Regions from separate parts of the Homo sapiens genome. Here regions 1, 3, 4, 5, 6 and 7 are each linked to region 2. The links are contacts of gene promoters, found by promoter capture Hi-C in blood cells and fetal thymus (Javierre and others, 2016). All regions are on one chromosome and are shown on one strand. The core of a region is centred on a gene start or on the middle of the fragment in contact, and the rest is flanking DNA. Distances in the headings are between cores, read along the strand shown.

The links. The method cuts DNA at HindIII sites, captures the fragments that hold promoters and counts their contacts. A CHiCAGO score of 5 or more calls a contact.
Region 1: a fragment that was not itself captured here is called in contact with the fragment with the promoter of CD2BP2 in region 2 in 1 of 17 cell types (monocytes); the score reaches 5.5 in monocytes.
Region 3: a contact is called between a fragment that was not itself captured here and the fragment with the promoter of CD2BP2 in region 2, in 1 of 17 cell types (total CD8 T cells). The highest score is 5.0, in total CD8 T cells.
Region 4: a contact is called between a fragment that was not itself captured here and the fragment with the promoter of CD2BP2 in region 2, in 9 of 17 cell types (megakaryocytes, total CD8 T cells, non-activated CD4 T cells and 6 more). The highest score is 9.9, in megakaryocytes.
Region 5: a contact is called between a fragment that was not itself captured here and the fragment with the promoter of CD2BP2 in region 2, in 6 of 17 cell types (total B cells, total CD4 T cells, naive CD4 T cells and 3 more). The highest score is 7.3, in total B cells.
Region 6: a contact is called between a fragment that was not itself captured here and the fragment with the promoter of CD2BP2 in region 2, in 1 of 17 cell types (non-activated CD4 T cells). The highest score is 5.1, in non-activated CD4 T cells.
Region 7: a contact is called between a fragment that was not itself captured here and the fragment with the promoter of CD2BP2 in region 2, in 1 of 17 cell types (M0 macrophages). The highest score is 5.1, in M0 macrophages.

The regions. Positions count from the first base shown.
Region 1 is chr16:29,858,625-29,861,791 of GRCh38, forward strand. CDIPT (CDP-diacylglycerol--inositol 3-phosphatidyltransferase) reads right to left here. Exons shown (of 6, transcript NM_006319.5): 3 at 2,482-2,635; 4 at 1,957-2,038; 5 at 818-899; 6 at 1-710. The coding sequence ends at 565. Among named protein-coding and RNA genes, the nearest start is that of CDIPT, 3.0 kb to the right of the region's middle. RefSeq lists an enhancer at 2,029-2,567. The HindIII fragment of the contact is 2,133 bases long and covers 185-2,317 here.
Region 2 is chr16:30,353,707-30,356,785 of GRCh38, forward strand. CD2BP2 (CD2 cytoplasmic tail binding protein 2) reads right to left here and starts at 1,602. Exons shown (of 7, transcript NM_006110.3): 1 at 1,506-1,602; 2 at 898-1,001; 3 at 478-616; 4 at 195-352; 5 at 1-94. The coding sequence starts at 975. It overlaps CD2BP2-DT (CD2BP2 divergent transcript), which reads left to right and starts at 1,728. Exons shown (of 2, transcript NR_184233.1): 1 at 1,728-1,914; 2 at 2,587-3,079. RefSeq lists enhancers at 616-1,567, 652-1,851, 1,542-1,836, 1,568-2,519, 1,574-1,633 and 1 more. The HindIII fragment of the contact is 7,065 bases long and covers 1-3,079 here.
Region 3 is chr16:30,671,237-30,674,455 of GRCh38, forward strand. No RefSeq gene overlaps it. Among named protein-coding and RNA genes, the nearest start is that of FBRS, 14 kb to the left of the region's middle. The HindIII fragment of the contact is 4,963 bases long and covers 1-3,219 here.
Region 4 is chr16:30,646,175-30,649,415 of GRCh38, forward strand. No RefSeq gene overlaps it. Among named protein-coding and RNA genes, the nearest start is that of PRR14, 3.2 kb to the right of the region's middle. The HindIII fragment of the contact is 4,473 bases long and covers 1-3,241 here.
Region 5 is chr16:30,705,071-30,707,945 of GRCh38, forward strand. SRCAP (Snf2 related CREBBP activator protein) reads left to right here. Exons shown (of 34, transcript NM_006662.3): 5 at 2,113-2,298; 6 at 2,502-2,642. Among named protein-coding and RNA genes, the nearest start is that of SNORA30, 4.0 kb to the right of the region's middle. The HindIII fragment of the contact is 157 bases long and covers 1,477-1,633 here.
Region 6 is chr16:29,958,838-29,961,870 of GRCh38, forward strand. No RefSeq gene overlaps it. Among named protein-coding and RNA genes, the nearest start is that of TMEM219, 1.7 kb to the right of the region's middle. RefSeq lists an enhancer at 2,615-2,724. The HindIII fragment of the contact is 1,848 bases long and covers 648-2,495 here.
Region 7 is chr16:30,722,887-30,725,950 of GRCh38, forward strand. SRCAP (Snf2 related CREBBP activator protein) reads left to right here. Exons shown (of 34, transcript NM_006662.3): 24 at 77-343; 25 at 698-2,196. Among named protein-coding and RNA genes, the nearest start is that of SNORA30, 14 kb to the left of the region's middle. The HindIII fragment of the contact is 1,687 bases long and covers 612-2,298 here.

The DNA of each region.
Region 1 (3,167 bases), core at 1-2,500, 500 kb before region 2:
GAGGAAAAGCACCCAGACGGACGTCCTTCCCTAAGCTCCCTCAACCCAGGCCCTGAGCCAAGAATATCTGAAAGGAAACCAAGTCAAATAGTGAAGTCCCGCCAGGACCAGGGTAGGCAGGACAGAGGAGCCGGTGACAGGGAAGGCTGTGGATGGCTTCTTCCCTCCTGGGCATGGTGCCCCAAGCTTGCTCTGGCTGGGGGCGGAGGTCTGACTCCCGCCTTTCAGGAAACCTGGCCCTCACACCACCTCCCTCACTCAAGCGTCCCTAGCATCTCGGACCCCAGGACTGAGCAGGCAGGGTGTGACACTGCCCGGTCCCGGCACCCCAGGAGCACCGCCTGGATGGAGGGGGCCTCCCGCGTATCCTCCCTGATTTGAGGCCCGGGTCCTCAGGATCCCAGAGAACGTGACGTCACCAAAGAGAGGCTGACCCCCATCCCAGCAGGTAGAACAACACATGAGGAAGGCGTGAGACTGGGACCTCCTAGCAGGGGGTGGGGAGCTGTGTGGCACAGCAAGACTCCCAGGGCAGGTGGGCAGCCAGGACCCGGGGCTCCAGCGTCACTTCTTCTTGGCGCGGTCTGCTGCGTCCAGGGCAGCCATGTTGCGGGCGGCCGTGATCAGGTGGATGACGCTGATGAGCGACTTCAGCAAGGCGATGGGGGCAGTGACCCAGAGGCCCATCCGGAACAGTCCCACAGAGCCAACTGCAGGAAGGCAGCAGGGGAGTTTGGGGCCCGAAGGAGGGGGCCTCCATCTCCCTGGGCAGGCCAGATCCCCCTCCCATCCTCCTGCCCAGCCCCTCATCTCCTACCTAAAGGTCCCTCAGAGAAATGGAACAGGTAGAGGAGGCAGTAGAAGAGCTCATTCCCAGCACACAAGGTGAACAGAGCAGGCTGCACACACAGCAAACAGGCCACGTTAGCAAGAGGCAGGCGTGTGCCACCCCCTGCCCCCCCAGCACTAATGAAGGCACAATCTCGGCATATTACTTCTCTTATTTTTTTTTCTTTTTTACAGACAGGGTCTCGCTCTCTCATCCAGGTTGGAATGCAGTAGTATGATCATAGCACTGCAGCCTCAAAACTCCTGGTCTCAGCCAGGCGTGTGGCTCATGCCTGGAGTCCCAGCACTTTGGGAGGCTGAGACAGGCGGATCACCTGAGGTCAGGAGTTTGGGACCAGCCTGGCCAACGTGGCGAAACCCCTCTCTACTAACAATACAAAAATTAGCCGAGTGTGGTGGCACGTGCCGGTAGTCCCAGCCACTCAGGAGGCTGAGGCACAAGAATCGCTTGAACCCAGCAGGCAGAGGTTGCAGTGAGCCGATAACCCGCCACTGAACTCCAGCCTGGGTGACAGAGCAGGACTCTGTCTCAAAAAAATAAATAAATAAATAAATAAACCCTTGGTCTCACGCAATCCTTCCACCTTAGCCTCCTAAGTAGAGACTACAGGCGTGTACCACTGTGCCTGGCTAAGCTAATTCAAGATTTTGTGTGTGTGTGGAAACAGAGTCTCACTTTGTTGCCCAGGCTGGTCTCAAACTCCTGGCCTCAAGCAATCCTCCCACCTCAGCCTCCCAAAGCGCTGGGATTACAGGCATGAGCCACCATGCCCAGCCATTATCTTTTTAAAAATCCTTCCAGAGGCTGCCTGTGTTCCTGGAATCAAGTCCACACTCCAGCCCTGCAGACCTCTCTGGCTTATCTCCCTTCCCGCTTTCAGTCCCTTCTCTTTGCAGGCCTCATTCCCACTTGTTCCCTGGAGTAATTCACACAGGCCTTCCCCACCAATCCTCCTCCTCCACGCCTCAGCTTACGGGCCCTCCTCCTGGAGTGACTGGGCAGGCCCTGCTCTGCGCCCTCGCCTTCTCCTAGGCTAGGACCAGGATTCAGCCCAGGGCTTCCCACAGCCAAGAGCCTGAGGGGTGGGGTGTGCAGGAAATGCTTACCCTCGAGGTGTAGTAGATCCGAAGCACCGGATTCCCGGACAAGTCGATCATCTTGTGACTCTCACTGCCTCGGACCACAGAACTTGGGGAGAAAACAGGGGAACCCACAAGGTTTCATGACCACTACCATGCATCCAATCCTCATGTTAACACCTATTGTACAGATGGAAAACTGGGCACGGCTAAGGACCAGTATCCTGCCGAAAGCCACAGTTACCTATTTGGGGGCAGAGTCAGGATTCAAATGCCACATTTGAAAGCTCCCATGCCCCTTCCTATAAGCTGTCACCTATATGGAATCCTAGAATACCCAGCCAGAAGAGTCCTAAGAATTGCTTAATGCAACTGTAAACATGACTGAAGCTTTAAAGAGAGGCAGGTTTGCCTGGGGTCTTTCTACAAAGCAGAGCTAAAAAGGAGCCCTTCCAGGATGCCTAGTGCCATCCCAGACACCCTTCCGTCTAGGCTCAGCCCACCCCACTGTAATGTCTCCAAGTGGCCCAGGCCCCCAGAATCGCAGCAGACCTGTGGAGGTGCAGCCAGTGACTGGCCACATCCAAACTCATGCTGATTTGGAAGAACAGCGTGGCTCCAGGGTACAGCAGGGCCAGGTTGACCAACAGGCACATGGTGGAGCAGCGGTCCGTCAGCATGTCCAGCATGGCCCCAAACCGGGTTCCTGGAAGATTAGGTGGGCAAGGGCTGTTATGGCACAGTGGATGCAGGACAGGTGCCCATATTTGGTTTATCACTCTGACGCAGGGTGTAAACGAAGACTGGAAGTGTCCGCCTGCCTGGGGAGGAACGCAGGCTAGAAAACAGGCTGTGTGTGAGGTCAGTGGGCAAAGGTCACCATGGCATGAACTGAGAAAGGCATGAGAGTGGAGGGAACAGGGTAGGAGGAGAGGAAAGCTATGTCTGCAACTCATCAACCCCAGAACCAAGACTCCAGGGCTAGATAGAGACTTGATGCCTCAGGGGAAGCCTTACAGTTGGGTCTGGAGAACAGATTAAAAAATTAGTCAACCCTCCAGAAGCCATCACCCTTCCCTCTCCATCCTCCCTCTAAGCATGCCTTCTGGAACCCCAACTGCTTATGCAGGGCACACAGTAGGCCTCCAGTAAACACCTGTTGAATACACTGTTTTTTGTTTTTTGTTTTTTTTTTTCCGAGACAGAGTCTTGCTCTGTCGCCCAGGCTGGAGTGCAAT
Region 2 (3,079 bases), core at 352-2,851:
GGGCTTGGGCACTCATTGAGGTCTGGCCCAAGCTGTCCTCCTCCTCCGAGTCTGAGGCCTGGCGCTGGCCAGGTGGCCGCTCCCGGATCTTCACCTGTAATGGGAAGATGGAGTGATTTCCCACCAACTGCCACGGGAGCAGGCCCAGCATCTGCCACTCCCAGGCCCCAGCCACGCCAGCCCCTGGGCCGCACCCAGTCAATGTTGTCCAGCCAGCTGTCTCGGATCTGAGCATCCCGGTTCAGGAAGTAGTTGCCATCGGCATCAAAGTGGCCTTCCTCCATCTCCTCCTGCAGGTTAAAGGGTGTGATCCGAACACCCCCCTCGCTGGGGAGTGTGGCTGCCTCCTGACCTGCACCAAAGACACAGGTGCCCTTTTCCAGGCATGGAAAAAAGAGACCGGAGCCTCCCTCGCTCCACACCACCAGAGGCCCCTACTTGTTTTTCCAGCAGAGTGTATTCTTGGGTACAGCTTACCTTCTACATCCTCTGAGGCCAAGATGTCATATTTGCTGGACCCCCCATCATCATCATCCTCCTCCTCATCGCTATCCAAAGAGTGTTTGCCTTTAAAGCGGCTCCCAGGACCCCCTGACCCAGCCACAGGGTCCACCAGCTGTGAGCAGGAGCCAGAAAGTTGAGAAATGCAGGTTACTGGCTACCTCCCCAAATACTTCCGGATCTGGACCCAAATATTCCCCAAATATTTCAGGATCTCGACTACTTCCCCAAATATTTCAGGAGCCACACTAAAGACGCTCCCAACCCATTCCTCAGAGAACCTGAAAAAACTAGGCTTTTCTCTGCCTGCCCGCCCCGCCCCTCTCCCGCCAGCTTTCTTCCTCTTCAGGCTTCTAGCTCCTCTTTCCCCCACACAAAGCAGTCTGGCCCCCTCACCTTCTTCTTGGGGACAATGATTTCATCCTCATCCTCCTCATCTCCCACGCCTTGGAAGGTCACTTTCCTCTTTGGCATGACGGGGCAAAGAGGTGTTTCTCAAGCTGAGGAAAGGATGCAGAGGAAGGGAACCGGGTGAGGAGGGGACTCGCCAACAGACGCAGCACAGCAAACATTTTTCCTGGTCTGTGACAGGTACAGTTTGGGAGCGGAGGGAGCACAAAAGCAGGGGCCGAAAGGAAGCTGGCAGCCAGGAGGCCTCCAGGACTTGGGTCTAGCATCCGCGAGTTAAACGGGGCGGGGACGGAGGAGCGGACCCTCTGGATCCCCCGACCCTGGCTGAAAGGAGACAGGCTTCACCACGTGACCGCCCCCAACTCCAGCCCCCGCAGTCTGCGCGCCACCGGCTCCACGGGCTGACCCCCGCTCTCTACCCTGGCTCTCTCGGAGCTCGCCGGGCCCCGGCAGACCCAGGACCTGGCGCTCTCGCCACCCCGTTCCTCCCTGCTCCGAACTCCCAATTCCGTGTGGTGAGCCCCAACTGTCCCGGGCTGTGTACAACTTAGAGGGCCACGGGGATTCGGGCGGTCCCACCCTCGCGCACTCACCTGGGAATCCGCGGAAGGCGAGGTGGAAAAAAGAAGAGATGCTTGCGCCAGGGCTACATCCGGGGCACCCGGCCGCCATCACCCGGAAGAGGACTGCGGAAGGCGCCCGGGAAGCCCGGAAGTGGCTTCACTCGGGTTAGGGAACTAACTGGAAGAGCGGGCGGAAGTATGCGATAAGCGAGCGAAGACGCCTCCACCCTCTCTCCCGCCAGAAGTGACGTCAGTCACGTGGGAGGACAATGGTGAGAAGAGGGAACCTAAGAATTCCTGGACTCTGACTGGGCGTGAGAAATGGCCGGAAGTAGCTTCGAGTCCGTCATTCAAGCAGTAGAGGCTCTGGAGAAAAACTGGAGCGCATCTGCTTAAAGGGCCGCCCAGGGTCAGGATGGAGGGGCAAAGTCCGAGCAGGGTCAGTGGGTTGCTGCTCCGTTTTCCTGTCCTGGGTTCAAGTCACCCTTCCCCCAGGGCTAAGGGCTCAGCGCCCCTACCGTCTCGTTAGAAATCCTGCCTTCCCATTCCTATGGTCCAGTGGTCAGCCCTCCTAGCCTGAGAGGTGCAGCCTTGCCTCTCCGAGGGGAAGCCTGACTCTCCCGATGGCCAGCCTGGGGCCCCTGGACGGCTCTCCGGGCACTTTCTGAACACACCTCCCTTTAGGACCCAGGGGAAATAATTTGTCCCACGCCCATACCCTGGGCGAGTTCCTGGTTTCTGAGGTGGGAGAGCCATCACTGGAGAGGTGGCATTGGCGCCAGTACTCAGGCCAGAAGCCCCTTGTGCCCTGCTCTCAGGTAGGCCTGGAAAAGGGCAACAGTGCCTCTCTGCAGCATGAAGCCCCCCTGAGCAAACAGGGCCTAGCAACTCCTGCCCAGGTAGCGGAATGTGGCCCAAGCAGAAGGGGGAATTGGGGAGGTAGCGGGGATCAGCCCCTGTGCTGGGACCCCTAGCTCTTGACACTCGGAGCCTGCATCCCCCTAAGCCAAGACTGTGCGCAGGCAGCACGTGCTGAAGCCAGACGAGGACAGCATGAGAGTTCCCCTACTCTTCCCCCAGGCAACTAGATGGGCCACTTCTCTCTCCCTAGGGGTTTCCTCCCATATTGGATCACGATGAAAACTGCACAGAAAGTCCGTGCTCAGTTTCTTCCATGGTTACAGAACACAGGCCCCAGACCAGGAAGGCATTCTGCTAAAGAAGGGGACCCGAAACCTCAGCTACCAGCGCCGATGGTTCATCCTCCGAGGAAACCTCCTCTTCTACCTAGAACACTAGACCGACCATGCACCCCTGAGCCTCATCCTGTTAGAGAACTGCCAGGTGGAACCACACCTTAAGGCTGCAGAACCCTATGCCTTTACCATCCTGACCCCTGGGGTGGAGGGCACAGGTGGGCGGGCCTACAAGCTGGCTGCAGAAACCCAGGAAGAGCTGGAGACTTGGCTGTGGGCACTGGCTGGCGCGAGCTGGAGGCGGCTGGCTGGGCTGCTGTCCCCCCTCCCCCCCCACCAAAACCCAATACTGGGAGCTGTGCCAGGCAACTGGCCAAGAACCCATCTCATCCCCAGAGGACAGTGGCT
Region 3 (3,219 bases), core at 344-2,843, 320 kb after region 2:
TCTGGTTTTTGTGGAGTAATACATAGTCATTATAAAACCATTCAAACACACAAATACAGAACACGGAGGGAAAGTGCTCCATCATCCCACCTCTTGAGGATAACCAGTTTTTTGCTTTGTTTTGTTTTGTTTTGTTTTTTTGAGACGGAGTTTCGCTCTTGTTGCCCAAGCTGGAGTGCAATGGCACGATCTCGGCTCACCGCAACCTCTGTCTCCCGGGTTCAAGCGATTCTCCTGCCTCAGCCTCCCGAGTAGCTGGGATTACAGGCATGCGCCACCACGCCTGGCTAATTTTGTTTTTTTTTTTTTTTTTTTTTTTAATAGAGATGGGGTTTCTCTATGTTGGTCGGGCTGGTCTCTAACTCCCAACCTCAGGTGATCTGCCTGCCTTGGCCTCACAAAGTGCTGGGATTACAGGCGTGAGCCACCGCACCTGGCAACCACTGTTAATTTTCGGGGAAATTCCTCCAGTTATTTTTCTAGCTACTACAGGTCACTGCAACAAAGCGAGGCACATGAATTTTTTCATTTCCTGGTGCATATAAATGTTATGGTTCTGGCTGGGCATGGTGGCTCACGCCTGTAATCCCAGCACTTTGGGAGGTTGAGGCAGATGGATCACGAGGTCAGGAGATTGTAGACCATCCTGGCCAACATGGTGAAACCCTGTCTCCACTAAAAATACAAAAATTAGCCAAGCATGATAGCGTGCGCCTGTAGTCCCAGCTACTCAGGAGGCTGAAGCAGGAGAATTGCTTGAACCCAGGAGGTTGAGGTTGCGGTGAGCTGAGGTAACGCCACTGCACTCCAGCCTGGGCGACAGAGCGAGACTCCATTTCCAAAAAAAAAAAAAATTACTGTTCCACAATACTGCAGTCTTAAGTGAGCAATAGTGTTATGTCTATGAAAACGGTACATCCCTTAATTTTTTAAATGCTAACAGTCATCTGAGCTTTTGCAAGTCGTAATCTTTTTGCTGGTGGAAGTTCTTGCCTCATTGGTGATGGCTGCTGACTGACTGAGGTGGTGGTCGGTGAAGGCTGGGATGACGGCGGTTTCTTGACAACAAGGAACTTTGCCTCCTTGATTGCCTCTTCCTTTCACTTGAACACTTAGAGGCCATTGTAGGGTGTTATTAATTGGCCTAGTTTGAATATTGTCTCTGGGAAGAGGGAGGCCCAAGCACAGAGAGAGAACAGTTAACACACATTTATTGATTGAGTTCGCCCTCTTACATGGGCACTGTTTGTGGCACCCCAAAGCAATTACAATAGTAACATCAAAGATCACAGATCACTATAATAGATACAATAATGGAAAAGTTTGAGATAATGGGAGAATTAACCAAATGTGACTCAAACACGAAGGCCAGGCGTGGTGGTTCACGCCTGTGATCCCAGAACTTTGGGAAGCCAAGATGGGTACATCCCTGAGGTCAGGAGTTCAAGATCAGCCTGGTCAACATGGTGAAACCCTGTCTCTACTACAGAATACAAAAAGCTGGGCATGGTGGCTGACTCCTGTAGTCCCAGCTACTCAGGAGGCTGAGGCGGGAGAATCACTTGAATCCGGGAGGCGGAGGTTGCAGTGAGCTGAGATTTTCCAGCCTGGGTGACGGGGCGAGACTCTGTCTAAAAAAAAAAAAAAAAAGCAAGTCACTACTAAACTGGGCTGTCAGGGCTGTTGCCTACCTGAGCTCCTATAGAATTGACTGAGTGACCTTATTCTAAGTATGCCTGCTTTTTTTCTTTTTTGAGACAGGGTCTCACTCTATCACCCAGGTTAGAGTGTAGTAGTATGATTTCAGCTCACTGCAACCTCCACCTCCTGGGCTCAAGCAGTCCTCCCGCCTCAGCCTCCCGAGTAGCTGGGACTATAGGCATGCACCACCACACCCAGCTAGTTTTTGTATTTTTTGTAGAAACAGAATTTTTCCATGTTGCCCAGGCTGGTCTCAAACTCCTGGACTCAAGCTATCTACCCCCTTGGCCTCCCAAAGTCCAGGGATTACAGGTGTGAGCCACCACACCCAGACTTGTTTTGCTTTTGAGGCAGCTTTTGAGCAAAACAACAGCCGGTCTGTTGCCCAGGCTGGAGTACAGTGGTGCAATCACAGATCACTTCAGCCTCGAACTCCTATTCCCAAGTGATCCTCCTGCCTCAGCCTCTCGAGTAGCTGGAACTACAAGCCTGTGCCACCACATTTGGCTAGCTTTAAATTTTTGTAGAGACAGGGTTCTTGTCTTGTTGTCCAAGCTGGTCTCAAACTCCTGGTCCCAAGCAATCCTCCTGCCTCAACTTCTGAAAGCGCTGGAATTACAGGCGTGAGCCACTGTGCCTGGCCCATAAATGTACCTGTTGCCTTAGGAAAGATGCAGCCAACATTCCCTGCCACCACCACACATATCCAGGATGTCTAGGGAAGGCTCAAGCCTAGATTGCTCCAACAGAAGTCAGAAACAAGTGACCAGAAGGTGAACGTTGGCTTGCAGACAAGATTTCACATGGAAGTTCTTGTTTTCAGCTTCTCTTGAAAAATCCAAAAATCTGTGGTCACTAGACCTGCTTACCCCCATGGCTTTCCTTTGAAATGGGGCATAATCTCACCAGATTGCGACTGTCCCCTCCACTTGTTGTCTTGGAGTAGACCACAGTCACTATTCAGGCTACCTCTCTGGCCCCTATAGGCATTTGAGAGTGACTCTCAGTGAAATATTTTCTTTCTTTCTCTCTCTCTTTTTTTTTTTTTTAGACAGAGTCTTGCTCTGTTGTCCAGGCTGGAGTGCAGTGGCACAATCTCAGGTCACTGCAACCTGCGCCTCCCAGATTCAAGCGATTCTCCTGTCTCAGCCTCGCAAGTAGCTGGGATTACAGGCATGCAACACCATGCCTGGCTAATTTTTTGTATTTTTAGTAGAGACAGGAGTCACACTAAATGTTGGCCAGCCTCGTCTCGAACTCCTGACCTCAGGTGATCCGCCCGCCTCAGCCTCCCAAAATGCCGGGATTACAGGCGTGAGCCACCGTGCCCAGTAGAGTTAAATATTTTCTAGACATGCCTATCCCACCTCTCCTAGATCTCTCCCCAAGCACCTCAGATATCCCAAATTAAGTCATCTTCGAGATCTGATGCCCCACTTCCCCCAAGGTTTCCATCTCTGTGTCATCAGCACTCAAGTCAGAAACCTCCCTCTTCCCTCACTTGATGCAGTTTCTGAG
Region 4 (3,241 bases), core at 484-2,983, 290 kb after region 2:
GGCACATACCTGTAGTCCCAGCTACTTGGGAGGCTGAGGCAGGAGAATCACTTGAACCCTGCAGGTGGAGGTTGCAGTGAGGCGAGATCGCGCCATTGCACTCCAGCCTGGTGACAGAGCGAGATTCCATCTCAAAAAAATAAATAAATAAAAATAAAAATTAGCAGGGTGTGGAGGTATGTGACTGTGGTCCCAGCTACTCGGGAGGCTGAGGCAGGAGGACTGCTTGAACCCAGGGGGTCAGGGCTGCAGTGAGCCAAGATCCAGCCACTGCACTGCAGCCTGGGTAACAGAGCAAGATCCTGTGTCAAACAACAACAGCAACAACAACAACAACAACAACAACAACAAAATAAGGTCAGATTCAGAGGAAGTGAAAGGTTCAAGATTTGAAAATATCTTTGGTGGGGTGGGGGGGAGGTGGGGAGACAAAATTCTGCCCACTACAGATAATAAGAAGTAAACAGAATTCTAAAAAAAAAAATGCAAGAAGAGCAGATATTAGGTTGGTGCAAAAGTAATTGCGGTTTTGCCATTACTTTTAATGACAAAAACCACAGTTATTTTTGCACCAACCTAATACAAGGAGCAGCCACAGCTCCTCTCAGGCGGAGACAGAGCATACAAGAAAAAGGCTCCTTCTGGCCAGGCGCGGTGGCTCATGCCTGTAACCCCAGCACTTTGGGAGGCCATAGCGGGTGGATCATTTGAGGTCAGGAGTTTGAGACCAGCCTGGTCAACATGGTGAAACCCCATCTCTACTAAAAATACAAAAATTAGACAGGCATGGTGGCATGTGCCCGTAATCCCAGCTACTTGGGAGGCTAAGGCAGAATCGCTTGAGCCTGGGAGGCGGAGGTTGTGGTGAGCCACCACACTCCAGTCTGGGTGACAGAGTGAGACCCTGTCGAAAGAAAGAAAGAGAGAGAGAGAGAAGGAAGGAAGGAAGGAAGGAAGGAAGGAAGGAAGGAAGGAAGGAAGGAAGGAAAAAGAAAGAAGGAAGGAAGGAAGGAAAGGAAGGAAGGAAGGAAGGAAAGAAAGAAAGAGAAAGAAAGAAAGAAAGAAAGAAAGAAAGAAAGAAAGAAAGAAAGAAAGAAAGAAAGAAAGAAAGAAAGAAAAGAAAGAAAGAAAGAAAGACAGACCTCCTTCCTTCCTGAGATCCACAAGTTTTTGGAGAGGGCACAGAAGTACAGAAGTCGCTGAAGTACAGTAGTTGCTGGAGTGTCAGTCTGGTGGAACTTGCTGGAAATCCACCCTCTTGGGTGCCAGGGAAAGCTGTTCATGGGCAGGTGTCTCCACAGAGGAACTCCACTGCAAAACCATCCAGAGGGCACCTGGGGGAGCTGCTGACCCTGGGGTTCTGCTGGCCACCCTGCCCTGCAGAAGCAGGGAGCTGGGAACCCACTTGTGCTGCAGGAGCCTCCCAGGAGGGTTTGCTGAACTGGGAAGCAAAACTCTTTCTTCCTGCAATGTCTCTCCAGCCATCTATTGACAAAACTTAGCATGATGCTGGCTGGTAAAAAAAATTTAAATATATATATATATTTAAAGGGTCCAGGCCAGGCGCGGTGGCTCACGCCTGTAATCCCAACACTTGGGGAGGCCGAGGTGGGCGGATCACGAGGTCAGGAGATCGAGACCATCCTGGCTAACACAGTGAAACCCCATCTCTACTAAAAATACAAAAAATTAGCCGGGCGTGGTGGCGGACACCTATAGTCCCAGCTACTTGGGAGGCTGAGGTGGGAGGATCACTTGAGCCCAGGAGGTCAAGGCTACAGTGAGCCATGATCACACCACTGCACTCCAGCCTGGGTGACAGACCAAGACCTTGTCTAAGAAAAGAAAAAAGAAAGATGGGCCGCCCAGAGTCTAAACGGACCCTGAGTTTCTGAATAATGACACACTGAAGTGCACCCACGGCCACACCAGCAGCCCCACTGGAGGCTGTGTGGGGCCCTCTTGCTAATGCATCAGCATACACTGTGGTACACCCCACAGTGTGTCCACCACCTGTGTAGGCAGTGGGCAAAGTAAAGTTGTTGAAATGGGAAGTCACAAAAAGAGCAGAGGTGAGACCGCAAGATCATGAGGGCTCACATTTGCTGGCCTGGGCTAAGGGCCAAGACTGCCACAGTCTACCTTAGACTTCCATTTGATGAACTCTAGCACCCCAAGTTAGGGTCACACTGGTGGGCTCTTCCTACCAAATACTCAGGTCCAGGACTTTTCTTTGGACTACATCTTTTACCCTTGGTGTCATTGACTTCAAGAGACCTAGAGAATCAAAACTCAGATTAGGGCCAGGTGTGGTGGCTCATGCCTATAATCCCAGCAATTTGGGAGGCCGAGGCGGGCAGATCACTTGAGGCCAGGAGTTCGAGACCAGCTTGGCCAACATGGCGAAACCCCGTCTCTACTAAAAATACAAAAAACTAGCCGGCCGTGGTGGTGAGCACCTGTCGTCCCAGATACTTGGGAGGCTGAGGCACGAGAATCGCTTGAACCCAGGAGGCGGAGGTTGTAGTGAGCTGAGATGGCGCCACTGCACTCCAGCCTGGGCGACAGAGCGTCTCAAAAACAAAAAACAAACAAACAAAAAATACCTAAAAACTCAGGTTAGGCCTGCTCTGCTTTTGAAAGTTTTTCCTGCCCTGGGGCCTGAAAAGCACCTGTGGGGTTTAGGTCTTAATTTGGCAAGGTTGAAAGAATCTCCAAGCACTCACAGCTGGATGAAACATCACTGTACCTCCTCAGGCACCCATACTGCCAGCCCTGATCCAGAGGGAGAGAAACACCTCTACGTGGAAGAACCACGGCGGCCTGCTCCCACCAGAAGTCTGAATGGGTTTCCAGAGGACCCAGCGGACCTCCTGTTACAGAGATGCTGTAGTCCTGCAAGAACGTCTCCCTGCATGAGTCCTTAGGGACGGAGCTGGGGAGCCTCCATTTCCCACATAAGCCCTTCTCGATTATGCTTTCCATATCATCCCTTGTTTGTTTGTCTGTTTTGAGACAGGGTCTCTGTCGCCCAGGCTAGAGTGCAGTGGCGCGATCATAGCCCACTGCAGCTGCGACCTCCCAGGCTCAAGAGAGCCTCCCACCTCAGCCTCCTGAGTAGCTGGGACTACAGGCGTGCGCCACCATGCTCGGCTCATTTTTTTGTATTTTTTTTTTTAGAGATGGGGTCTTGCCATGTTGGCCGGGCTGGTCTTGAACTCCTGGCCTCAAGTGATCCGCT
Region 5 (2,875 bases), core at 305-2,804, 350 kb after region 2:
CGGGTGGATCACCTGAGGTCAGGAGTTCGAGACCAGCCTGGCCAACGTGGCAAAATCCCATCTCTGCTAAAAATACAAAAATTAGCCTGGCGTGGTGGCGCAGGCCTGTAGTCCTAGCTACTCAGGAAGCTGAGGCAGGGAAATTGCTTGAACTGGGAACCGGAGGTTGCAGTGACCTGAGATGATGCCACTGCACACCAGCCTGGGTAACAGTGAGACTCTGTCTCAAAAAAAAATGCAAATTCTTGGTACCTCTCACCCACCGACCCATTTGAAACTATGAGGGTAGGGCCCAGCAATGTTTTTATTTTTTATTTTTATTTTTATTTTATTTATTTATTTTGTTGAGACGGAGTCTCGCTCTGTCGCCCAGGCTGGAGTGCAGTGGCAGAATTTTGGCTCACTGCAAGCTCCGCCTCCCGGGTTCACAGCCATTCTCTGGCCTCAGCCTCCTGAGTAGCTAGGACTACAGGCGCCCGCCATCACACCCGGCTAAATTTTTTGTATTTTTAGTAGAGATGGGGTTTCACCATGTTGGCGGGATGGTCTTGATCTCTTGACCTTGTGATCTGCCAGCCTCGGCCTCTGAAAGTGCTGGGATTACAGGCATGAGCCACTGCGCCCGGCCACAATTGGGTTTTTTTTTTTTTCCTTGAGACGGAGTCTCAGTCTTTCGCTGAGGCTGGAGTGCAGTGGCATGATCTCGGCTCACTGCAAGCTCCGCCTCCTGGGTTCACGCCATTCTCCTGCCTCAGCCTCCCGAGTAGCTGGGACTAAGCGCTCGCCACTATGCCTGGCTAATTTTTTGTGTTTTTAGTAGACACGGGGTTTCACCGTTTTAGCCAAGATGGTCTCGATCTCCTGACCTTGTGATCCACCCGCCTTGGCCTCCCAAAGTGCTGGGATTACAGGTGTGAGCACAACCTGTTTCTAAAAGTCCTCCAGATGATTCCGGTGCCTCCTCAAGTTTGAGAGCAGCTGGTCTAATATCCACGTCTTTCTTGATGTTTCCTTCACTGTCAGGCCATTTAGTCCTGTCTGGTCTCTGGCTGTCATTTTCTCTGATTTAGTTTTTATCAGGAGAGGACAGAAATAACAAAGACAGAGGCTGGGTGCGGTGGTTTTCGCCTATAATCTGAGCATTTTGGGAATCCCAGGCAGGCGGATTGCTTAAACCCAGGAGTTCCAGACCAGCCTTGACATTGTGAAACCTCGCCCCTACGAAAAATACAAAAAAATTAGCTGGGCATGGTTGCATGTGCCTATAGTCAGTCTCAGCTACCTGGGAGGCTGAGTTGGGAGGCTGAGTTGGGAAGATAACCTGAGCCTAGGCAGCAGAGTGAGACCCAGAAAAATCTCACTCAGATTTCTGAGTGAGATTCAGAAAAAGAAATAAGGCAGTTGTCCTGAATTTTTTGAGTCGTCTCTGTCAAAAAAATTTTAAATGCTTTTTAAATAAAAGACAATCAGTGTAGAAGCTTTAGTAAAAATGACCACTCTTTTTTACACCTAATCAGTGTTAAACATTTCACGTATAACGTTTCAGTATTTTTTACATAAACATATGCATTTTTACAAAAGTAGTATTTTTAAAAACAACAGTGTGTCAGTTGGGCATTATAGCATATTTCTAAGCTTAATGCATCATGAAAATACTCTGAGTAAGTAGAATTCTACAATGATGATGACCCCTTGTATCTAGAATCAAGAGGGAAGTATGTGTTCCCTACTCCTCTGGGAAGCTCCTCTTGGGATATGATTTCCCAAGTCTCTCCTATGTCTATGGGGTGTGGAGATTGTGTTAAATAATGGAAAGAGCATGAAATTTGCTGTCTGGAGTCCTCAGACCTATTTTTGATTCACATTTTCTATTACTTTCTAGCTGTGTGATCTTGGGCAAATCACTTAATCTCCCTGATCTTTTTTCCTTCTTCATCTCCCTGATCTTTTTTCCCTTCTCTGAAGAGAGTATGATACCTGCCTGTAAGTTTGGTATGTGGACTAAACATAAGCATAACACACTCAGCCCACTTAGTGCTCAGGAATTCAGCCGTGGCAGTGAGATGGAGTGTGTGTTTAGAACTGTTGATTGATCTGGCTCTCCCTGATTAGGAGGCCGAGATCGAGACTCGGATTGCTGAGCTGCGGAAGGAGGGTTTCTGGTCACTGAAGAGGCTGCCTAAGGTGCCAGAGCCCCCTCGCCCCAAAGGTCACTGGGACTATTTGTGCGAAGAGATGCAGTGGCTCTCTGCTGACTTTGCTCAGGAGCGCCGTTGGAAACGGGGTGTGGCCCGGAAGGTAGGTCTTCCGCTGGGACTTCCTTCCTTTTCCTTTTCAGGTCTGTTCCTTCCCGGTTTGTTGGAAGGGGACCAGACAGAATGGTGTAGGCATTAAGAGCAAACTCTTGATTTTCCAGATTTCTTGGCCTTGATTATTTTCTTTGCCTTTGGGTGGGGAAGTCTGGCTTTGAGTGTTTTCACCCTGGGTCTTCATTCCCACAGGTGGTGCGCATGGTGATCCGGCACCACGAGGAGCAGCGGCAGAAAGAGGAACGGGCCCGGAGGGAGGAGCAGGCCAAGCTGCGTCGAATTGCTTCCACCATGGCCAAGGATGTCAGGCAGTTCTGGAGCAATGTGGAGAAGGTAGACAGTGGGGATCAGGAAAGGAAAATGGCCTTGGATTAGATTGGTAGATGGCGTGGTAGTAGGAATGATCAAAACTTCTTGAGGGAGTAAATATAATTTCAGGCAACTCTAATGACGTTTATGTTGTATGGATAAAAAAGTATAGTGGCAAAATATGGGTCCTGCCTTTGGGGATTGTTAATAGTTCTCCTTGACACCTCTAGGCCATCTGTCCCTTGCAGGGCATTTAG
Region 6 (3,033 bases), core at 322-2,821, 390 kb before region 2:
GCCCAGCCTGAACATGCCAGATTGTAGTTCCAGGAGGCCAGAGATCATGAATACTTTGTCCACCACTATATTCCCAGCCCACAGAATACACAGCCTGGCAGCCAACAGATGCTTATTGAATGAACGAGCCTCAACAGGGCTTTCTCATTCCCACATGCCATGCTGTGGTCAGGCTTAAATCATAACCCAACTTCTGCCACCTAATATATGTATGACCTTGGTTAAATTAAACCAGCAGTCCCCAACCTTTTTGGCACTGGGGACCAGTTTCATGGAAGACAATTTTTCCACCAGGGGAGGAATGGTTTCGGGATGATTCAAGCACATTACATTTATTTTGCACTTTATTTCTATTATTATTACATTATAAGGTATAATAAAATAATTATACAACTCATCATAAAGTAGAATCAGTGGGATCCCTGAGTTTGTTTTCCTGCAACTAGATAGTCCCATCTGATGTTGATGGGAGACAGTGAGAGATCATCAGGCATTAGATTCTCATAAGGAGCAACCTAGATCCCTCGCATGCGCAGTTCACAATAGGATTCATGCTCCTATGATAATCTAATGCCGCTACTGATCTGACAGGAAGCAGAGCTGAGGCGGTAATGCAGGCAATGGGGAGTAGCTGTAAATACAGATGAAGCTTCTCTCACCAGCCATTCACTTCCTGCTGTGCGGCTCAGTTCCTAACACGTCACGGACTGGTACTGGCCCCACGGCCCAGGGGTTGGGGACCCCTGACTTAAACTAAGGGCCAGCTTTCCAGAATAACATCCACTTTGAGGGCTTGTTGAGTGGATTAAGTCAAAATGTTGGTATACTTGGCTGGTGCGGTGGTTCACACCTGTAATCCCAGCACTTCGTGAGTCTGAGGCGGGTGGATCACCTGAGGTCAGGAATTTGAGACCAGCCTGGCCAACATGATGAAACCCCATCTCTACTAAAAATACAAAAAATTAGGCCGGGCGCGGTGGCTCACGCCTATAATCCTAGTACTTTGGGAGGCCAAGGCGGGTGGATCATTTGAGGTCAGGAGTTTGAGATCAGCCTGGCCAATATGGTGAAACCCTGTCTCTACTAATAAGTACAAAAATTAGTCAGGTGATAGTGGCGTGTGCCTGTAATCTCAGTTACTCGGGAGGCTGAGGCAGGAGAATCCCTTGAGCCTGAGAGGCAGAGGTTGAGGTGAGCTGAGATTGGGCTGTTGTTGAGTTGTAGGAGTTCTTTATATATTATAGATATTAACCCCTTATAAGATATATGATTTGATATTTCCTCTCATTCTGTTGGTTGCCTTTTCACTGTCCTTTCCTTTTTTTGTTTTTGTTTTTTGTGGGGCAGAGTTTTGATCTTTTGCCCAGGCTGGAGTGAAGTGGTGCAATCTCAGCTCACTGCAACCTCCACTCCCCAGGTTCAAGCGATTCTCCAGCCTTAGCCTCCGGAGTAGCTGGGATTATAGGCGCCCGGCACCATGCCTGGCTAATTTTGTACTTTTAGTAGAGATGGGGTTTCACCATGTTGGCCAGGCTGGTCTCAAACTCCTGACCTCAGGTGATCCACCCGCCTCGGCCTCCCAAAGTGCTAGGATTACAGGCTTGAGCCACCGTGCCCAGCCTGTTGTGTCCTTCGATGCACAGAAAAGACTCTTTTCTCTACTGAACGCCCACAGCACCCTTGTCAAAAATCATTTGACTAGTCAGGGCACAGTGGCTCACGCCTGTAATCCCAGCACTTTGGGAGGCCGAGGCGAGAGGACTGCTTGAGGTCAGGAGTTCGAGACATGCCTGGGCAACATGGCAAATGGCAAAACCCCGTCTCTACACACAATGCAAAAGTTAGCTGGGCATGGTGGGTGGCGTGTGACTACCGGCTGTCTCAACTACCCAGGAGGCTAAGGCGGGAGGATCTCTTGAGCCCAAGACGTCCAGACTGCAGCGAGCTTTGATTGTGCCACTGAACTCCAGCCTGGGCGATGACAGAGCAAGGCTCTGTCAAAAAAAAAAAAAAAAAAAAAAAAAAATCGGCCGGGTGTGGTGGTTCACGCTTGTAATCCCAGCACTTTGGGGGGCCGATGCGGGCAGACCACGAAGTCAAGAGATCAAGACCATCCCGGCCAACATGGTGAAACCTCGTCTCTACTAAAAATACAAAAATTAGCTGGGCGTGGTGGCGTGCGCCTGTAGTCCCAGCTACTCGGAAGGCTGAGGCAGAAGAATAGCTTGAATCCGGGAGGCGGAGGTTGCAGTGAGTCGAGATCGCGCCACTACACTCCAGCCTGGCGACAGACTGAGACCCCGTCTCAAAAAAAAAAAAAATCATTTGTATATGCGAAGGTTTTGTGCCACAAACTTTTGTGGCTGTTGATACAAACGACATGGCCTCTGCCTTAAGGAAGCCACAGTCGAATTAAATAGATTCCGTTTCAAGTAGCATCTGTCCTGTGTGCTTAGTGGGCACTGGGCCCATGTTTTCCCACATTTTACCCTTTAAGCTTCTGATCCAACCGGTGAGATAGATAGGATGATCCTCTTTAGTAGAGGGGTAAGCTTAGTCCCCTGAGAGCGCGGCTATGGCTTATGCGAGGGTACGGACAGTCAGGATTTGAACCCAAAGTTCCTGGCTCCATGTGTCATGCTACCTCCAGTCAGATGTTCTCACCTCCAAAACTTGGGCAGAAGTGAACTGAGATGCTCTCTACTGAGCAACTCTTCAGCTCCAGCATCCTATACATTAAGGAGTCACTAAAAGTCAGGGTCCACGAGAAAGGTGCAGATCGGGGTGCACAGAAGAGCGGAGTCCAAAACACCACTCCCAGCCCCAGTGGACAGAGTCCTCAAGTGGCAGCCCTGCAACTCTGAGCGGATGCCGAGTCCTCACCGGGAACCCGGGCGCGGCTGGTCTGTGCTATTGGCGCGGGTAGGGGACGCACAGCCCAAAAATGCCCGCGACAAGCTTCTGGGGCAGTTCTCGCCAGTCTCTCTGGAGGGAGCCTACGGGTTCTGCGACGTTTCTCGCACTTGCTCCCTG
Region 7 (3,064 bases), core at 205-2,704, 370 kb after region 2:
TGCCCCTGGACTTCTTCCATTCTTTGGGTCTTTTGTTTCTTTTCTACCTTCCTCTCAGTGTAGCTTCCTCTTGCAGTGCCACCAACCATGGTGAATAATACAGGCGTGGTGAAGATTGTAGTGAGACAAGCCCCTCGGGATGGACTGACTCCTGTTCCTCCATTGGCCCCAGCACCCCGGCCTCCGAGCTCTGGGCTTCCAGCTGTGTTGAATCCACGCCCCACGTTAACCCCTGGCCGGCTACCCACACCTACTCTGGGTACTGCTCGAGCCCCCATGCCCACACCCACTCTGGTGAGGCCTCTTCTCAAGCTGGTCCACAGTCCTTCACCTGAAGTCAGTGGTGAGTCCAGGTGGCTGAGGCCAGAAATCCTTGCCAGGAATGGAGACGAGATGGGGTCGCCTCAAGGTTTCTTAGTTTTAGTACAGGTTTTTTCATATCAGCGTACTGCCTTGATTTGTAGTGGGCCCCAGAACTGGGCTGCCTGAGCCCTGACCTAATTTCAAGATCTATTTGCTGGAATCTTGGAGGGGAAGAAAATCTAAAGTTGTCAGATTACTTGGATGTTTGACTTCATGTTGTGGGAGTGAATGCCTTCTGGGAAATGGGAAGCTTGGGGGTATGGGAAAGATGGGACAGGGAGTAGAAAGGCTCAGGAAAAGAATTCTGGGGCTAACTCATCCTCTCTCTCCACAGCTTCAGCCCCCGGAGCTGCCCCCTTGACCATCTCTTCTCCTCTCCACGTGCCATCCTCCCTCCCTGGGCCAGCCTCTTCTCCAATGCCAATTCCCAACTCCTCTCCCCTTGCTAGTCCTGTGTCCTCTACAGTCTCAGTTCCATTGTCATCTTCACTCCCCATCTCTGTCCCCACCACACTTCCTGCCCCAGCCTCGGCTCCACTCACCATCCCCATCTCAGCCCCCTTGACTGTTTCTGCTTCGGGCCCAGCTCTGTTGACCAGTGTGACTCCACCATTGGCACCTGTTGTCCCAGCGGCTCCTGGACCTCCCTCCTTGGCACCATCTGGTGCTTCCCCGTCAGCATCAGCCTTGACTCTAGGTTTGGCCACAGCTCCATCCCTGTCTTCATCTCAGACACCTGGTCACCCTCTGTTGTTGGCTCCCACCTCTTCACATGTTCCAGGGTTGAACTCAACCGTGGCCCCAGCATGCTCACCTGTCCTGGTGCCAGCTTCGGCTCTGGCCAGTCCTTTTCCGTCAGCACCAAATCCAGCTCCAGCTCAGGCTTCCCTTCTGGCTCCAGCATCTTCTGCATCTCAGGCTCTAGCCACCCCTCTGGCTCCTATGGCGGCTCCACAGACAGCAATTCTGGCTCCTTCTCCAGCTCCTCCTCTGGCTCCTCTTCCGGTCCTGGCACCATCGCCAGGTGCTGCTCCTGTCCTGGCTTCATCACAGACTCCGGTTCCAGTTATGGCTCCATCGTCTACTCCAGGAACCTCTTTAGCCTCAGCTTCACCGGTACCAGCTCCAACCCCTGTGTTGGCTCCATCATCAACTCAAACTATGCTACCAGCCCCGGTTCCGTCACCTCTCCCGAGCCCGGCTTCTACGCAGACACTGGCCCTAGCCCCAGCTTTAGCACCCACTCTTGGAGGCTCATCTCCATCTCAGACACTCTCTTTGGGAACGGGGAACCCCCAGGGACCCTTTCCAACTCAGACATTGTCATTAACTCCAGCATCATCCCTGGTACCAACTCCAGCCCAGACACTGTCTTTGGCACCAGGACCACCACTGGGTCCAACTCAGACGCTGTCTCTGGCTCCAGCACCCCCTCTGGCTCCAGCTTCTCCAGTGGGCCCAGCCCCAGCTCACACGCTGACTTTGGCTCCAGCATCGTCATCTGCTTCACTCCTGGCCCCAGCTTCAGTGCAGACACTGACCTTGAGCCCTGCCCCAGTTCCTACCCTGGGCCCGGCCGCAGCTCAGACCTTGGCGCTGGCCCCAGCCTCCACACAGTCCCCAGCTTCCCAGGCATCTTCCCTTGTGGTTTCGGCATCTGGTGCCGCTCCCTTGCCTGTCACCATGGTATCCCGGCTGCCTGTTTCCAAGGATGAGCCTGACACACTGACATTGCGCTCTGGTCCCCCCAGCCCTCCCTCCACTGCTACCTCGTTTGGTGGCCCCCGGCCTCGACGCCAGCCCCCCCCACCACCTCGTTCCCCTTTTTATCTGGTAAGTTTTACTTCCTCAAGAGGGAACAGGAAGTTGAGTTTCTTTGGAGTGTTGGTAGGGTGGATGGAACAGTGATGTCACATTTAACCTGGTGAATTACAAAGCTTAATGTTATGGACCAAGTACTTGAGTGACATTTGGACAAGTCCCTTCTCTTCCCTGGGCGTGTACCTCATGATCCGCCTGCCTCAGCCTCCTGAAGTGTTAGGATTACAGGGGTGAGCCACCACGCCCGGCCTCTTTTCCCGTTTTTTAACCCGCACGGTAATAAATGGGCAGTAAAAGGAACTCTTCTCTGTCCCTTTTATGATTTCCGGTAGCTGTTTCTTTCCTGTACTATGTATATAGGCCCATGTCTGTGTAGTACTTGAGTTAAACTCACAGTTCAGCTTAAGTAAACCAGAACTAAGGAGAAGGAAGGTCCAGTGGGTCCCTCCACGCCCTCTGGCTTTTCCCCACTGTAATCAGAGCTGCTGCTTAGTCTTTGCTTCATGCCTACTCCCCCACCTTCCACCAGTGCCATTGACTCCACCTTTGGTTTTTACCTGACCAGCCGCTAGGTTGGTCCTGGCTGGTTGGAAGTAGAGAGTAGAGGGATTGCTCTGCAAGTAGATAATAGCCTCTTGCCACTTGGTTTTTTTTGGTAACAGTTTGTGCTATAAATCATATACCATTCGATTTACCCATTTAAACTGTACAATAGTTTTTGGTTTTTTTTTTAAATACAGATGGGGGTCTCCCACTCTTGACCAGGCTGGTCTCGAATTCCTGGCCTCAAGTGATCCTCCCATCTCGGCCTCCCAAAATGCTGGGATTATAGGTGTGAGCCACCATGCCTGGCCCTAAACTGTACAATAGGTTTTTAATA